3 separate regions of the Homo sapiens genome follow, and regions 2 and 3 are each linked to region 1. Evidence: promoter capture Hi-C in human tissues and cell types (Jung and others, 2019). All regions are on one chromosome and are shown on one strand. Each heading gives the region's core, a stretch centred on a gene start or on the middle of the fragment in contact. The rest is flanking DNA. Distances are from core to core; before and after follow the strand shown.

Region 1 (5,096 bases), core at 1,215-3,714:
TAATGGCTCATGTATTCTCCCTCCCTAGGAAAAGTATAGTTACCAGAGTTTATTTAGGGGTTTTGACTAGATGGGAATAATGCAAGGTGTCATGCTTGAAAAACTTTTAATATCTGACTTACATCTCCCCTAAATATTTCACCATGTCCACAAACACTGACTAAAATGAAGAGAAACCCCAAAGGAGAAAATTGATATACCTACTACTTTCAAAATGAGGAAAAAAATTTGTCATTAAAATTTCTAAAGATAAAATTTCTCAATGAAAAACAAACATCTTCACCTGAGATTTGGGTGTTTTTTTTTCCTATAACTTTTTTTACACAAAATAGAGTTGTAAAAGAAACAGACCTCAGCATTCAGATTATTGACAATAACACGTACAGATTTTAGTTCCTCTGTGTTTTTGTTTTTAGCTATTGAATTTTTATCACTTACAAACTTGACTGTACGTGGATTTCTTCCTTTTACCCACAGTATCTTCTCCTGAATTTCCTTTCATTATTAATCTGCATAAAATATGACACACATTGCCTCAAATCCCTCACTAATCTATTTGCTAAGTGTGTCAGTATTATAAAGCACTTTGAAATACATTAGCACATTTGGTACTTCCCCCAATGAGTTAGATGTGGCAGGCTTCATGCCACATCTAACTAATCATGTCACGTCTAACTCATCATGCCACATCATGGTGGGAAAAACAGTGCTTAGAGAAACTGTCTTAAGCTACTTAAGTTACATGAGGAGCAGTGGCAGGGGCCCCAACTCGCATGCTCTGACCACATGACCACATCCACACACCCAGGATCCTTTCCCTGCTTATGCCACACAGAATCAACCACATGATAATTATGGGGAGGTTTTCTTCTGTGCTTTTTTTTTTCCAGTTAAAAAACAAATAAAAACATGAATGAGTTTATAATTTTATATTCAAACCCCACACCCATGCAATCACATGCCTTAGAATTTTAAAACCCTACCCACAAAATTCACAAGGGTAAATGAACATCTACTTCCTCCTCTTACTACACACATCAAAACACTCAAGTAAAGTGTCAGGCAATCCAAGCAAGCCTGGAGCGAGATAAGGTGCATAGATAAAGTGCTGGTTTCTGTGTGATGCATATTATTTGCATAATATTTACATTACTCATTCAAGGCTGGGAATTACCACTTTAAAATAAAGTATATTGAATACCTTTTTGGATTTCCCCGATTTTCAAACATTCTTCTGAATATATAACAACTCCCAGAAACCAATTCCTTTCTCAATCATCCTGGGAGCCATCTGATGAGGATCTAATAGCTAACTTTGTAATTAGAACGCAAACATTAATGTAAGAGTACAAAAAAGACGTTGCAATGAGCAAGAGAAGATAGATTGTAGTAGTAAAGCTAAGTGATTCAATAATATTCTTAAAACATAGCACATATACATACTCTTGTTTGGTATTCCCAGTAAATGATTTTTAGATACTAAAATTTCTCAGTAGCTTTTCTATACTAATAGCCTTCAAACTATTTCTGTTCTGTATTTTACCTTTCAACCAAACTTTCTATGGCTTTCAGTTTTCCAGTATATTTCTTCCCATTTATTGTACATTTCAAATAATACTTTTCTTTCCTCTATCCCATTTTTAACTACATTAAGAAAAATTCTGAAAGCCTTTTGGCTTGAAACCAGAATTCAACGTTCCAGTTCAGCCAGTAATGAGTCATGTTCTTTTTTTTTTGCCCAGGGCATGTCCTGGTTTACTCTTTAATTTACTGAAATGAAAAGGCTGCTTTTGGGGGCATGTTAAGACTCGCTCCATTAGCTATAAGACAGATAGGGGGATGAATTCTAAATATCTTACTTCCTGCTTTGGAAAATGCCTTTAAACTCTTCTGTTTTCACTTCTCATTAAGATCACATTTTAGGATTACCTGGCGTATTGCCCCATGACCCATACTCCCACACTTTTTTTTAACTCACCGGCTGCCTTTTTACACCTAGCCAATTTTTCCAGACCAGGATCTGAAGCTGATGAAACAGGGAAGCCATCCTTCAAATGCCCCAAATGAGAGATTTCCTCTTCTTTTCTCCACTCCACAAATGAAGAACTGATGCCCCGTCCAACTTGCTGTATGTCAGTGTATCAGTACCCCTTTCACGGCATAGCTTCCTTGAGGGCTGGGGTAAGAAACCCACAGTTCTTCTGTTTCTGCTGGATTTTTCCCTGTGGTTAATCCTTAACCAAGAGGCACTTCTCAATCAACTCTTCTTCCAAAAGAAGGACCCAGATCAGTATCTTTGGGTGGCTTATGCTTATTTTAAAATAATATCCAGTTGCTGCTTGTTGCACGAAGTCCAGACTCAAGAGAGAATGAGCATCATTCAGATAATGCCTCACTGAAAAAAAAAAAAAAGCAGCAGCTGAACCCACACCTCCTACTCTCCATGAAATTAATTGCCTATCCACACCTTAGAGAACATGTCACCTGCACTGGATGCGTCACAGGGACTAGGGGGTGGGACCTTTGCAAGGCCAGTAGGACTTGTCCTACATTCTCTTGTCTTCTTTCCTGCACACAGTGTCTGCTCTAGCAGAGGCAGGGCACAGAGAGCATTTCACAGACACTGGGCCCAGTGACTCTTTAATATTAAAGTGTCATTAAAATGATTTAAGTCAATAAGGCCAGAGCTTAGCTGCAAAGCTCTGAGCCTCAGCCCATCATTAGATATACTAGGGAAAGTGTCCACCTTTAACCTAAAGTTGAATGTTTCGATTTTGGGGGAAGAAACTATGTTGGCCAGGTCCCACCTTTCATCACAATGTACTAGGTTAAGCACAGGGCAGAAAAGGAAAGGTAGGCTGTAGGGGACATAAATTACAAACTGGAGTCCCTCAATTCGTGAGTGGAGATTCACGTGTCTATTACAGACAAGCCACATTGTTTCAGGCTCTTATAGTGAAAGGGGACACAGGCTGATCCAAGACATTTCTATTTCCTCTTTCCATGATACATTCCTCCCTCTCTAAGATCCTGCCTTTCAAAGTTATCCCCAAGTTGACATCTTCAATGAAGCCTTTTTGGATATATCCCATAGGATAGATTCTCTTGCCTTTGAATCATTCTTTGTTGCCCTCTCTCAAGGAACTTAAAGTTTTTGCATTATTTTTATTTGTGTATGTCTTATTTTTCCTACAAGATTATAAATTATTTGAGGACATGGACTATTTTATATCACAGTACTTTACATATCATTAGTGTTCAATACTTGCTGCTGAATGTAATTGAATAAACTACTGGAGCCAAGGCTAGTAGGGTGAAGCTCCCCTTTGATCCTCACACCTACCCTGACTAATCCAGACTTTACTTGCAAAATCCGTTAAAGCATTAAGAGTTCTCCCTTCGCCAGGTGCGGTGGCTCATGCCTGTAATCCCAGCAATTTGGGAGGCCGAGACGGGCTGATCACTTGAGGTCAGGAGTTCAAGACCAGCCTCGCAAACATGGTGAAACCCCGTCTCTACTAAAAACACAAAAATTAGCCAGGCATGGTGGTGGGCACCTGTAATCCCAGCTATTTGGGAGGCTGAGGAGGGAGAATCGCTTGAAACCGGGAGGCAGAGGTTGCAGTGAGCTGAGATGGCGCCACTGCACTCCAGCCTGGGCAAAAGAGTGAGATTCCATCCCCCCTCCAAAAAAAGGAATCTAGCACAGGTCCTGCCTCATAGTAAGTAGTCAATTAATTCTATTAATTGGGTAGCAATGTTTGCTAAGGACTTATTGAATCATCCTAGGAGTCCTATTATATAGAAACTGTCATTATTCCCATTTTCAGTGAAAGAAAGTGATATTTAGAAGTGCCATAACTTGCTGGATTTCACCTAGTTAGCAGTGAGGACAGTGGGAACAGCAGAGAAGGAACTCGAACCTCGTTTCTGTACTGTTAATCTCTGTGCTATGTTTTCTCCAGTCCCATGTATTACACTTCACAGGAAGAGCTGAGAAACAAATGAACATCAGGGATTTTCCCTGTTTCTCTAGGCAGGTCTATAAATCACTTGTAGAGATTTTTTTGTAAGTACACGCATGAAAAATTATGGCCAAAATGAGTTCACAAAGAGTAGTTGCTCCAGGAATTCAGGAGAAGGAAGGCTGCTCTTTTAGGCTTCTTCATAGAGCCTCACGGCACTTCCCAGCCTGGCTCTTGCCAGCTTCATCAGTTGTCTCTCCACCTTCAGCCCTCCCTCCTGCCATCTGCTAGAATACTTTAGATGAGGACTGTTCACTTTCAGGCTTTGGTCATGCTGTTCCCTCTGCCCAAAATGAAATTGTGCTCATTCTCAAATGACTGACTCAAGTGTAACTTCCCCTCTGAAGCCTTTTCCAGCACTTCCACCCACCACACCCCCACCCCCGGCTGAATTAATCACCCCTTCATCTGTTTTCCCATAAAGCTTTGTTCGCACAGATAGCCAACTCCCTTATTACCTTCTAGTATAGTCAGTCTGTCTCTCTGTCCATACTCTGAGCCCCTTGAGTACAGGGACCAAGTCTCATGGAACACCACAATTTTGAGATAAATTCTGTATTCCTGAATGGTGAGAATTCTGACCCAACTAAATCTAAGAGCTGGTCTGAAGTAGTAGAAGATAAAGTTGGAGAGTTAGGGACCTAAAGCCAAAGAGGAGGAGATGTCATATTGCGGATTTAAAATGAAAAGTTCCTGGAAACTCTTCTTAAGAGATAGAGTATGATAAAGCCGATGCTGTGGGATGATGAAAATGTTAGTAGAATGAGAAACTGATTGAAGTTGAGACTTGAAACCCTGTTTTTGAATAGAAAAAACAAGTGAATTGAGTTAGTGATGATGTAAAACAGTTCAGAAATTTTAACAGCAACCAGATTATAATTTTACTCCTTTGTCTCAGCACTGGTTGTTGTGTATAGCATCAGTGACAACTTTGTTTGTTTGTTTGTTTTACCATCAACTGACTTTTACATTAAGGTGCTATGGGATACTCATTGCATACAGGACCTGTGAGGTCAACATTATTTTACCTGCTGTATACGTGAAGATGCATAGGACAAGTAGCTTCCTGAG
Region 2 (5,096 bases), core at 382-2,881, 410 kb before region 1:
CTCTTCTAAAATTTTAGATATGCTTGGTATAAAGAAAAAAACAAACTATTCATCAAACTTTTTTCATCAGGATGTTTATGCTTATTTGGTGGGACTTAAAGCCTCCACAACTCCTAGCTTATTTGAAATAGGCTTCAGAGACACCAGGCTAAACATTATTAAATTACAAGAGTAACATCTTTTCCGTGGACTTTTATCCAATTCTGCCCATCCACATTCAGGTCCTTACATATTACCAACCTAAGGTCTCCAGGGCAGCCACCATGGGGGTGTGCCCTCCAGGGTTCCAGAAATGTATTCACGGGGCACAAAAGATTTTTGTGCTGAGGCTAGGGATCCAATTAGCTATGAAACATACTTCCGTATGCTCGTTGGAAATAAAAAAAGTTTCATAATTCCCTTCTATGGAAATTTTCTTTGTGACTTCTAATATACTTATATAATATCAACAGGATAATGCGATATTATCCATTAAAGCTACAATATGTGGCCATAGAGACATATGGTAACTAAATCCAAGCAGCAGCTGTAAGTCTTCTTTCAAGCTACTTCCTGTATCTGAGATTTACCTCAGATTCTGAAAGGTTTATGGCAATGTTCAAGATGCCAAAAATCCATTAACAGTATGAAATTATTACCTTCTGGATTTTACTGCTCATCGTGATCATCTTTCAGAATCAAGTGCTTGAAATAAGCACAATTAAAATTTTAATCAGTCACCTGTAGCTGTTGAAAGGGCAGAAGTTCTTCCTGATGGTGATAATAATAGTATGTCATAATAAGAACAATGAAAGTTGTATTAAAAGAAAAATACCAGCTGTTCTCTGTTGAGCCTGCTTCTGCGTGGACCTTCAGGAATTTCATACTTTTCTTCCTGTTCACATACTTTTCTTCGTAGACATGCTTTTACCCCTGACAAAAACACAAGAATTAAAGCAAACTAAGTATCAAGTGAGCACTATATCTCTCTCATTAAAATCAAGCAATTTACCTAAGTGGTTTTTCTTCTTCATGGCAGTTTTTAAGTATTATTCTAAAATGCAAACAGAAATCTTACTTATGCCAAAACAAAATGTAATACAACTGGTTTTCCCATATAAAGAAAATATTTTAAAAAACTCTTTCTTTGGAGGATTAAGCCATAAGTTAGTACTGAACACTAACTGTAATTTTAATCTCCTTTCTGAAAAACCTAAGCCAGGATACTATTTCAAAGACAAAAATAAAAGTCTACATTTCCACTCATAGCAATTACCCAAAATTAAGGTGAATAAAAAGTCCATGACACAATAACCTAAACTGAGCACTTACCATCTATACTGCTCATTTTGACAGTTATATGTCTAATCGTCTGTTAAACTGTAAGTGATTTGACATGAAGGAATGTGCTTTAGTCTACAGCACCAAGCTCAGCTAGCCACACAACAGGGGTTCAACAGCGCTTCCTAAAATAAACAAGCAGAGCTTGGGATAGGTTTGGCATGTGACAGGTACACAACTGAGGTTGCTAGTCTAGAGATGATTTGATTGGGCTTTGCAGGAAAAAAAAAAGCATTCTTTTGATGGCTTGAGTAAGTCTGTTCACAGCTTCAGGTTAAAAAGCAAAAGCAATAGAGACAGCTCAGCCTGGCACTGTTTAGAGTCATTCCACTGCTTGGCACCTGGGTGGGGAATCCCTAAGTAGGGCCACTGGCTGGCAGCCAGTACCAATTGTCTCGCTAGGCTCTAGAAATGAAAGGAACCCTTGGGATTCCCAGGACCAATCATGAAGGACATGGTCAGCTTCAGCTAGAGACAACATCTTGGATAATGCCTGTTTACCACCAAGCGAGGGAACTGATGGCATGTATATATATTTATCATGCTTCTGTTCTGATGGCATATAACTAAACTAAATTTGAGATTTGCAGTTGAAGGACTTGGCTATCCCAATTACTTGTTCTGGAAGCTTCCTTGCCTATGGAAATAAAAAATGAAAACAATGTTTTTCACCGGGCTTCTGTGGATAAAATGCAAGAAGCATTCTAAAAACTAGATACTACAATGAATTATCTTCATCATAAAAACAAACCCTCCATACAATTTCCTATTTGTCTTTGAGGTTGTTTTGCTCAATACTTCATTTTATCACTGAGGGTAGGAACCATATATTATTCACCTATGCGTTCTTCAGAATTTCATACACTTTCCCATAGAACAGGAGTTTAATAGCAGAGGGTATCGGGAAAGTTGGAACAATAACTCAGGTATCCCCTTCACTGTCTAGTGTTGTTAACATAAAGGAACAAAAGTTTTTAAAAATTCACTATGGACACAGCATTGACAGATTGTATCCACATCAATAAAAATAAGTAATTATATAGCACCTGTAAGAGTTCAGAGTTACACATAGTTTTGAATATCAAACTGTTACATCCTGTTATCACTTGATATCTAATGGCTTAAAATGATCAGAAAAAAATCTATGGCTGCATAAACATATACTTTATATTGAGGATTAGACATATATGTTGGATATACTACAGTGTTTTGGAAACCTCTTGAAAAATGCTAGTGATAAAGTTTTGTCCAGCTGATCCCTACTTACTTCAACAGTAAATTGATTCCAACACAGGAGCAGAACCACTACTCGGCATGTAAACTGCATATGCCTGCAAAAGGGCTCCTTTCTTGACTAAAGGGTGGCTAAGAACCAACAGTTAATCTGCTACCCAGAACTGTCCTGCGATTGCATCTAATATAAATTAAGATTCAGTTGTGTATGAGTAAAATGTCTTTTGACCTATGATGATTTTTTTTTCTTTTTTTTTTTTTTCTGAGACAGAGTCTTGCACTGTCACCCAGGTTGGGGCGCAGTGGCGCAATCTCGGCTCACTGCAAGCTCCGCCTCCTGGGTTCACACCTTTCTCCTGCCTCAGCCTCCCAAGTAGCTGGGACTACAGGCGCCCGCCACCATGTCTGGCTAATTTTTTGTACTTTTAGTAGAGACAGGCTTTCATCGCGTTAGCCAGGATGGTCTCGATCTCCTGACCTCGTGATCTGCACACCTCAGCCTCCCAAAGTGCTGGGATTACAGGCGTGAACCACCACACCTTGCTGACCTATAATGATTATCTTGAGAGCAAAAACTTATACTGGAGAAGAAAAAGAAATGCAATGTTTTCCAAGAGTGAGTAATGGTCCACTTTAGACTAACTCAGACTTTATGGCATAATCGGTTTTAAACTTTCTTCTTTATTACCCCACACTGACACAATAACAAAACTTCAACTGTTTCCAGGAGCCACATCTGCAGAATTTGGAGTAAGCGACAGAACTGAAAAAACTGGTACTTTCTGAGGGAAAAAAAATGTGTTTGAGTCCTCTTTATAAAATGTTTTATTTATTCTAATCTTGTAACTTGAATTTTGAAAATACCTAGAATCAAATAACTTACGAGGTAGAAAAGACCCTGAAGAGCTAGTCCTACCTTCTTGTTTTAAAGATCTGCACAGTCAAGTGCAGAAACATAAAGTGACTTGCTAAGATCACTAATAGCAAAGTTAAAGTGAACCACTTCCTAAAGCAACAGACTTCCACTTCGGCGCTCTTCCTATATCATATTTATAGGCCAAGTATCCCTTATCTGAAGTGTTTGAAACCACAAGTGTTTTAAAATTCAATTTTGTTTTGGATTTTGGAATATTTGCACGTACATAATTAGGTATATCTTGGCAACAAGACCCAAGTCTAAAAAAGAAATTCATTTATGTTTCATATACGCTTTATACAGATAAAGCATATATGAAGATAATTTTATATACTATCTTTAATAATTTTGTGCATAAAGTTGTGTCTGCGTTTAGACTGTGAGCCATCATGTTAGGTCGTGTGTGTTGTGCTGGCACTCAAATAGTTTAGTATTTTACAGCATTTTGGATTTTCAGATTAGGAATGCTCAAACTGTGTTAAACACCTATCATGTACAAGAGAAGTCATAATCTCTTCCCTAAGAAGAAAATTCCTGCTGTTTCCTGTCACTTTATTTCAATAATCTAATCCTGAACTTTCATTAATATTGTATGCTCTATCTCAGAGTGCTTAATTTTAAATGAAATTTTATTGCTTTATTTTCCTCTGTCAACAAGCAATCCACTATCAAATTTAATTTTTCAAGCACATTTAAAATTACATCCATGTTTTAAAGATATTAAGGATGCCACTGAGATAATCTCAATCATGGTATATCTAATAACAAGAAAACTCCCTACTCTTGTCCAGAAATCCTAAGAACTTCACATTACGTAAACTTCTGTTACAAAGTCAGTGAAAGAAAAAAGGTTAATAGCTTATACATAGACAAACATGAGAAGATTCGTTTTTCAGATTCAGCTTTTCCCTCTTTTCCTACTTAAAATGGCTAACCTTTCAAAGAATAACAAATGTGGGAGCAGATTTGCTTGCCAGAAAGATAATAAAATATTCTTTTATATTTTGCATGTATTTCAATGTTAAAAGCAAAGATAATAGGTTTTTTGAATAAAATGTTTGAATGCAAAGTTGTTTCTGAAAATAATGGAGGACCAATATATTTTAAATATTAAAAAAATATGCTGGAAGTATTAATGATTTACATGTATTAGTGAAGTGGTATTCAAAAATACTAATAAAGCAGGAAATAATACACAGCCAGAGTTTTAGCCATTTATAGCTCTTGTTAAACAAATACGAAATCACAATATTAAATATGGAAAGAAAAAGTAGAACATCATTAAGAAAATATGGAATAAGTTGTTCCATTGTTACTTCTCTGGGTTTAAATTGAGTAGAACCTGAGTAGAATTTATTTGATTGTATATAAGTTTATTTTACACCTGTAAATACTATCAGACAGAACTCTCTTCTTATAAATTAATAGAGAACCATGAGAGCAGTATCATTTTATAAAAACTATGAATGCTATGTTACCTAATATTCATCCAATGAGCAAAATACTTTACTATAGATTGAACGTGTACATTGTGCAGTGCTCTGAAAACTTTAATTTTTCCACAATCTAGAATAAAATACTCATAAATCATAAGGCCTAACCAATCCAATGCTAAAAATCACACACC
Region 3 (5,096 bases), core at 1,613-4,112, 320 kb before region 1:
CTGTCCTAAACTTTAATATATATATTAAAGCTTAAAACACAATAAGTGCACAACATATTTTTCCATTGTTAGGACTGGCATTGTTGAGTTGCATGAAGCCAGCTACACTGGCTTATGATTTCTCCTATGAAAGAGTACATATTCTAAGCAAAGAACCACTTATTCTGTGGCTATTGGAACAGAGATACTTGCAGTAGCAATTCCTATGCAAATATAATGCAATCACCTGGAAAGGAAGCTTAAATCCTATTTACTGATTATAGTCTCTTTTAGTATCATCTCAGATAAAGTATCCACCTGATTCCTAACACCATCGTTGGCATAATATTAGGACGTGACAATGAAAATGTTTATAATTTTGTTTCATTAACTTAAACATCTTTTATTTACATCATTTTGTTGCTCATTTAAGAACAAAAAAAAGCCTAAGCAATTAAAAACAGTAATTTTGTCCTACGTACTAGAGACAGCATATATGAAGCAAACAAACCACCCATGAATATCATGATTAATGTGTATTTCAATCAGTTCAATTGTGTGTATATGTATTGATCAAGTTATTGGCTGCAGTGTACTGTACTGAACCGTTTTAGCATGCCACAGTCTCTTTGACTAGTACATACCAACTCAGTCCCTATGTCATGTACACCTTGGCATTTAGTTTAGAATTACCCAAGTCTCTAGAAGCATCTAGATATTTTAAGATTGTTTTTGAAAGGATGTTAACTCCATTCTTGTGGGCACCTGCCAAATTTCTGTCACAGGCTTAAAAGTAACTAGTCTAAGGACATAGTTACATTACTATGACCCCACAGTAGTTGTTTTAAAGGTTTTGGTATCTTCTGTACTTCCTGATCATTTATCAAATTCAGTCTGACACACATATTTCACTGGTCATTGTTTTTTGTTCAATAGACTTCAGAGTTCAGCCCATTCCACTGCCTTTTATTGCTTGCTATTTTTAAGGAGACACCTCAGTAGAAATCCTCTTTTTCTGTACAGTGTAATTACTGAAGCACATAAAGTGGTTATAACAGGAATTTATCACTTTCAGGTGGAAATACTCCCAGCCAAATAAAAGATAGAGTAGGAATGCCAGAAGCAATTTATAACAGGCTCACTGACATTTTGTGTTGAGAAGCTCTACCACTGAATAAGCATCAAGTCATAAATCTCTGTAAACGTGATTAAAGCAAGCAAGTTATACTTTGAGGGGATACTATAATAAAAGGATGCTGTGATGCAAAGCAGGAAAATTCTGTTGACAAAAATCACCAAAAACAGCTGTCAGTAAAATTTACAAACAGCTTGTTTTAAATTCTGTTGGATTCTAGCAGCTGTTTGTTTGCACATAAAATGTTCATTTAGGAAATGAGCATTGGCCCTAGTTTGGGTTCCATTGTGTTTCAAAATTCTGTAATCAGTTTAATCAAAATTCATGCAATAATTTAAATTTCATTCAAAGCACAAGTGAGAAGTAACCAATATATTTAAATATGCCTCATATACAATTTGTGTTCAATAAATATGGGAATAAAAAAAAAAGAATGACTATATACCATTATCTGTAAAAGCAATGATCAATTACAACATGCATTTCAGCTTAATTTTTCTTCATCCATATATATTCTTTTAGAAATTATGCCTTGTTCATATTGGACTCATTTTACTCTTATTGTTAATAATCCTTAAGAGCCCTTCAGCAATATATTTAGAATTTAGAACGCTGACTTAAAATTTAGTTACAATTATCAGACATAGTCTATTAAATTTCGCTCATGCCTTTAGTTACTTTTCTCACTATCTCAAAATATAGCTTATATATTTTTTCATCTGTAAAGTAGGGATAACAGAAAATACTTTACTGCTATTATATGGATAAAATAAGCTAATACACTTAGAAAAGTGCTTGGAACATATTAAGTTCCTAATAAATGCTAGCATTTACCACTGTACAAAAAACTCTAGGTTCAAGAATAATAAATTGATCAGAATTTTTTTTAGGTAATAAGAGCATGTGTGTATATATATGTATGTGTGTGTATATATGTATATATAAGTGTGTGTGTATATATGTATGTGTATATGATATGGTTTGGCTGTGTCCCCACCCAAACCTCACCTTGAATTGTAATAATACCCATGTGCCAAAGGTGGGGACAGGTGGAGATAATTGAATCATGGGGGTGGCTTCCCCCATACTGTTCTTGTGATAGTGAATAAGTCTCATGAGATCTGATGGTTTTATAAACGGGCATTCCTCCACACAAGCTTTCTTGCCTGCTGCCATGTAAGAAGTGACCTTGCTCCTCATTCACCTTCCGCCATGATTGTGAGGCCTCCCCAGCCGTGTGGAACTGTGAGTCAGTTAGACCTCTTTCCTTCATAAATTACCCAGTCTTGGGTATGTCTTTATTAACAGCTTGAGAACAGACTAATACAGTATAGGTATACACACACACAATACACACATACCATTTTTAGGTATTAATTTGGGAAATTTGGAAGCCGAGTCAAACCAAAAAATACAATCATAAAAATAAATATAATGTTGTGTTCTCTTTATTCTTAAACCAAACACCATGATCATCTTTCCTTCCCTGATTTTACTCACATCATTGAGAAAAATATATTGCTTTGGTTATATTTTCTAGAAAAAAGTCTGTATAATCCAGATTCATCATATAATCCTAACAATCACCCAGTAGTATAGACACCATTACCCCGTTTGACAGAAGAGGAAAAGGGACTTCAAGCTATTTAGTGACTTTCCTAAAAACATATAGCTTACAGATAGCAGAGCAAGGAAATAGTTCCAGGTTTGCCTGACTCCAAAGCCCAAGCACATAAGTAGCACATAACCTAGTTTTAATTACGTTCAACTTCAGAAAAGGATATTATTTAAATCCCAATCAGTTGAAATACGAGTTCATACCCATTTTCAGCACAATTATACATTGTTACTTACAGAAAAAGTTTGTTATAGTCTTTCCTCTCAGAGAATTTAGTTCCTAGTTATTAAGACTATGCAAGACACAATATAAATAATATGAGACATTATAATTAAGTGTTCAATTCTGTGATCCACATAAAGTATCACAAAAGGTCATGGGAGAGAATCCTTACAGTTGCTTAATGAAGATTGGAACGATCATGGATATCTGTGGGAGAGGTGAAAGTGGGAGTTAAGTCTTAGGTTTGAGTAGTAGAAGGGAGGAGGAAAATTATTTTAGATGGGCAAAATCATAGGAATGCAGACACACAAATGATAGGGGAACATCACTACCAGCTTGACTAGAGCAAAAGTGTTGATTGAAGCATATAAAATTACTGGTTTTGTAGGTCAAAAATGGTCAGACAACAGCAATTTCATCTGGCTCAACCTAATACCTATTATATAGTAGTGATTATAGTTAGTACACAGCTAAATGTAATAACGAACTCCTAGAATTTGGGGAAGGATCAGTGAAAAGTCACTTTCTGAGAGGGAAGCTAGCAGCTATCAATAAATAATGGCTGAGATTTTTATCTGTTCATATATGCCACCCTAAGAGATTTGGAAATATGGTGCTTAGCTATTCAAAGAAAAGCCCCATTGCGACCAAGCAAATAGACTAAAATTAAAGCCCTGAAATATTTTTTTAAAAGCTTGCCTTTCAGGGCAACTTGAGCCAGGGAGTAAATATTAAGTCACATTATTAATAACAACCCACATTTATATAGCTTTGCCATCCACCAGTGGTGTGTGCTAGCTGGCATGTTTAGGCTCACAAGAGCCATTTATTAAATTTTCAGGAATTTTTAGGAGTTTTGCCAGCTGTTTGTTAAATGTTGTCATTATTTAAAATTATATTATGTGAACTTAGAATAACTTTTTAAAAACAAAGGTAATATTAAAAACTCACTTCCTAAATATTTTACTGCATTTACTTATTATCTATGCTCTTGAAGTTATTTACATTTTTTTCTATCCCTATAGTAGAAATGCTATAGTATATGATAGTGTGCTCTTGCACATCTTATCAACTTCACATTCAGTGACATCACTTTGGTAGCTTGAAATCAGCCACAGTGAGAGTATTTACAACAGGAATATCTGTGTAAGGCTTAATTAGGGCTTAATATATTCTTTTGTTGATTGTTTATTCCAGACATAGATGAATAAAATGTAATAATACAGAATACATTTACTTCAGTATCTTGAAAGCAGCCATGGTGAGAGTATTTACACCAAGAATATTGGTGTAAGGCTTAATTAGGGCTTAATATATTTCATTGATTGTTTATTCTAAACGTACATGAGAAAAATGTAATAATGCAGGTTACTTTTAAATATATGTCATGTCTGCCATGGCAAAAGAAATATATTATGGACTTTGGGGACTCAGGAGGAAGGTGAGAGTGGGGTGAGAGATAAAAGACTACACATTGGGTACAGTGTATACCGTTTGGGTGACGGGTGCACCAAAATCTCAGAAATCACCACCAAAGAACGTATTCATGTAACCAAAACCACCTGTTTCCCAAAAACTATTGAAATAAAATAAAATACATTTTAAAAATGTTTAAAAAGTATGTCATGTCTATAGATGTTGTATTGTGAATAGGTACAAAAATTGGTGATATATATCTATATCTATCTATATAGGTAGATATAGATATAGGTATTTTTGAGAGGGAGTCTCACTCTGTGCCCAAGCTGGAGTGCAGTGGTGCCATCTCGGCTCACTGCAATCTCCGCCTCCTGGGTTTAAATGATTCTCCTGCCACCACCTCCCAAGTAACTGGGATTGCAGGCACCTGCCACCACACCCAGCTAATTTTTGTATTTTGGTAGAGACGGGGTTTCACCACGTTGGCCAGGCTGGTCTCCAACTCCTGACCTCAAGTGATCCGCTCACCTTGGACTCACAAAGCGCTGGGATTACAGGCATGAGCCACTGCACACAGCCTAAAATTGGTGACATATTCTTTCAGTATTCAACTTGCAAGCAAGTCACATCATTGATGAACAAGTTTCACTTCTGTCTGACTCTAATACAAATATCAACCAACATATATGTTGCAACTACACTCAGAATGCTCATTGTTCAACA

Evidence for each region. The method cuts DNA at HindIII sites, captures the fragments that hold promoters and counts their contacts. A contact is called where the count stands out against the background at its distance.
Region 2: a fragment that was not itself captured here is called in contact with the fragment with the promoter of ABCA12 in region 1 in 1 of the 25 tissues and cell types used here (dorsolateral prefrontal cortex).
Region 3: a fragment that was not itself captured here is called in contact with the fragment with the promoter of ABCA12 in region 1 in 1 of the 25 tissues and cell types used here (adrenal gland).

Annotation. Positions count from the first base shown.
Region 1 is chr2:215,136,162-215,141,257 of GRCh38, forward strand. It overlaps ABCA12 (ATP binding cassette subfamily A member 12), which reads right to left and starts at 2,465. Exons shown (of 53, transcript NM_173076.3): 1 at 1,979-2,465. The coding sequence starts at 2,047. The HindIII fragment of the contact is 12,690 bases long and covers 1-5,096 here.
Region 2 is chr2:214,729,597-214,734,692 of GRCh38, forward strand. It overlaps BARD1 (BRCA1 associated RING domain 1), which reads right to left. Exons shown (of 11, transcript NM_000465.4): 10 at 815-912. Among named protein-coding and RNA genes, the nearest start is that of BARD1, 78 kb to the right of the region's middle. The HindIII fragment of the contact is 4,235 bases long and covers 1-3,749 here.
Region 3 is chr2:214,815,217-214,820,312 of GRCh38, forward strand. All of the region lies in intron 1 of SNHG31 (small nucleolar RNA host gene 31), which reads left to right. Among named protein-coding and RNA genes, the nearest start is that of SNHG31, 7.5 kb to the left of the region's middle. The HindIII fragment of the contact is 3,216 bases long and covers 1,255-4,470 here.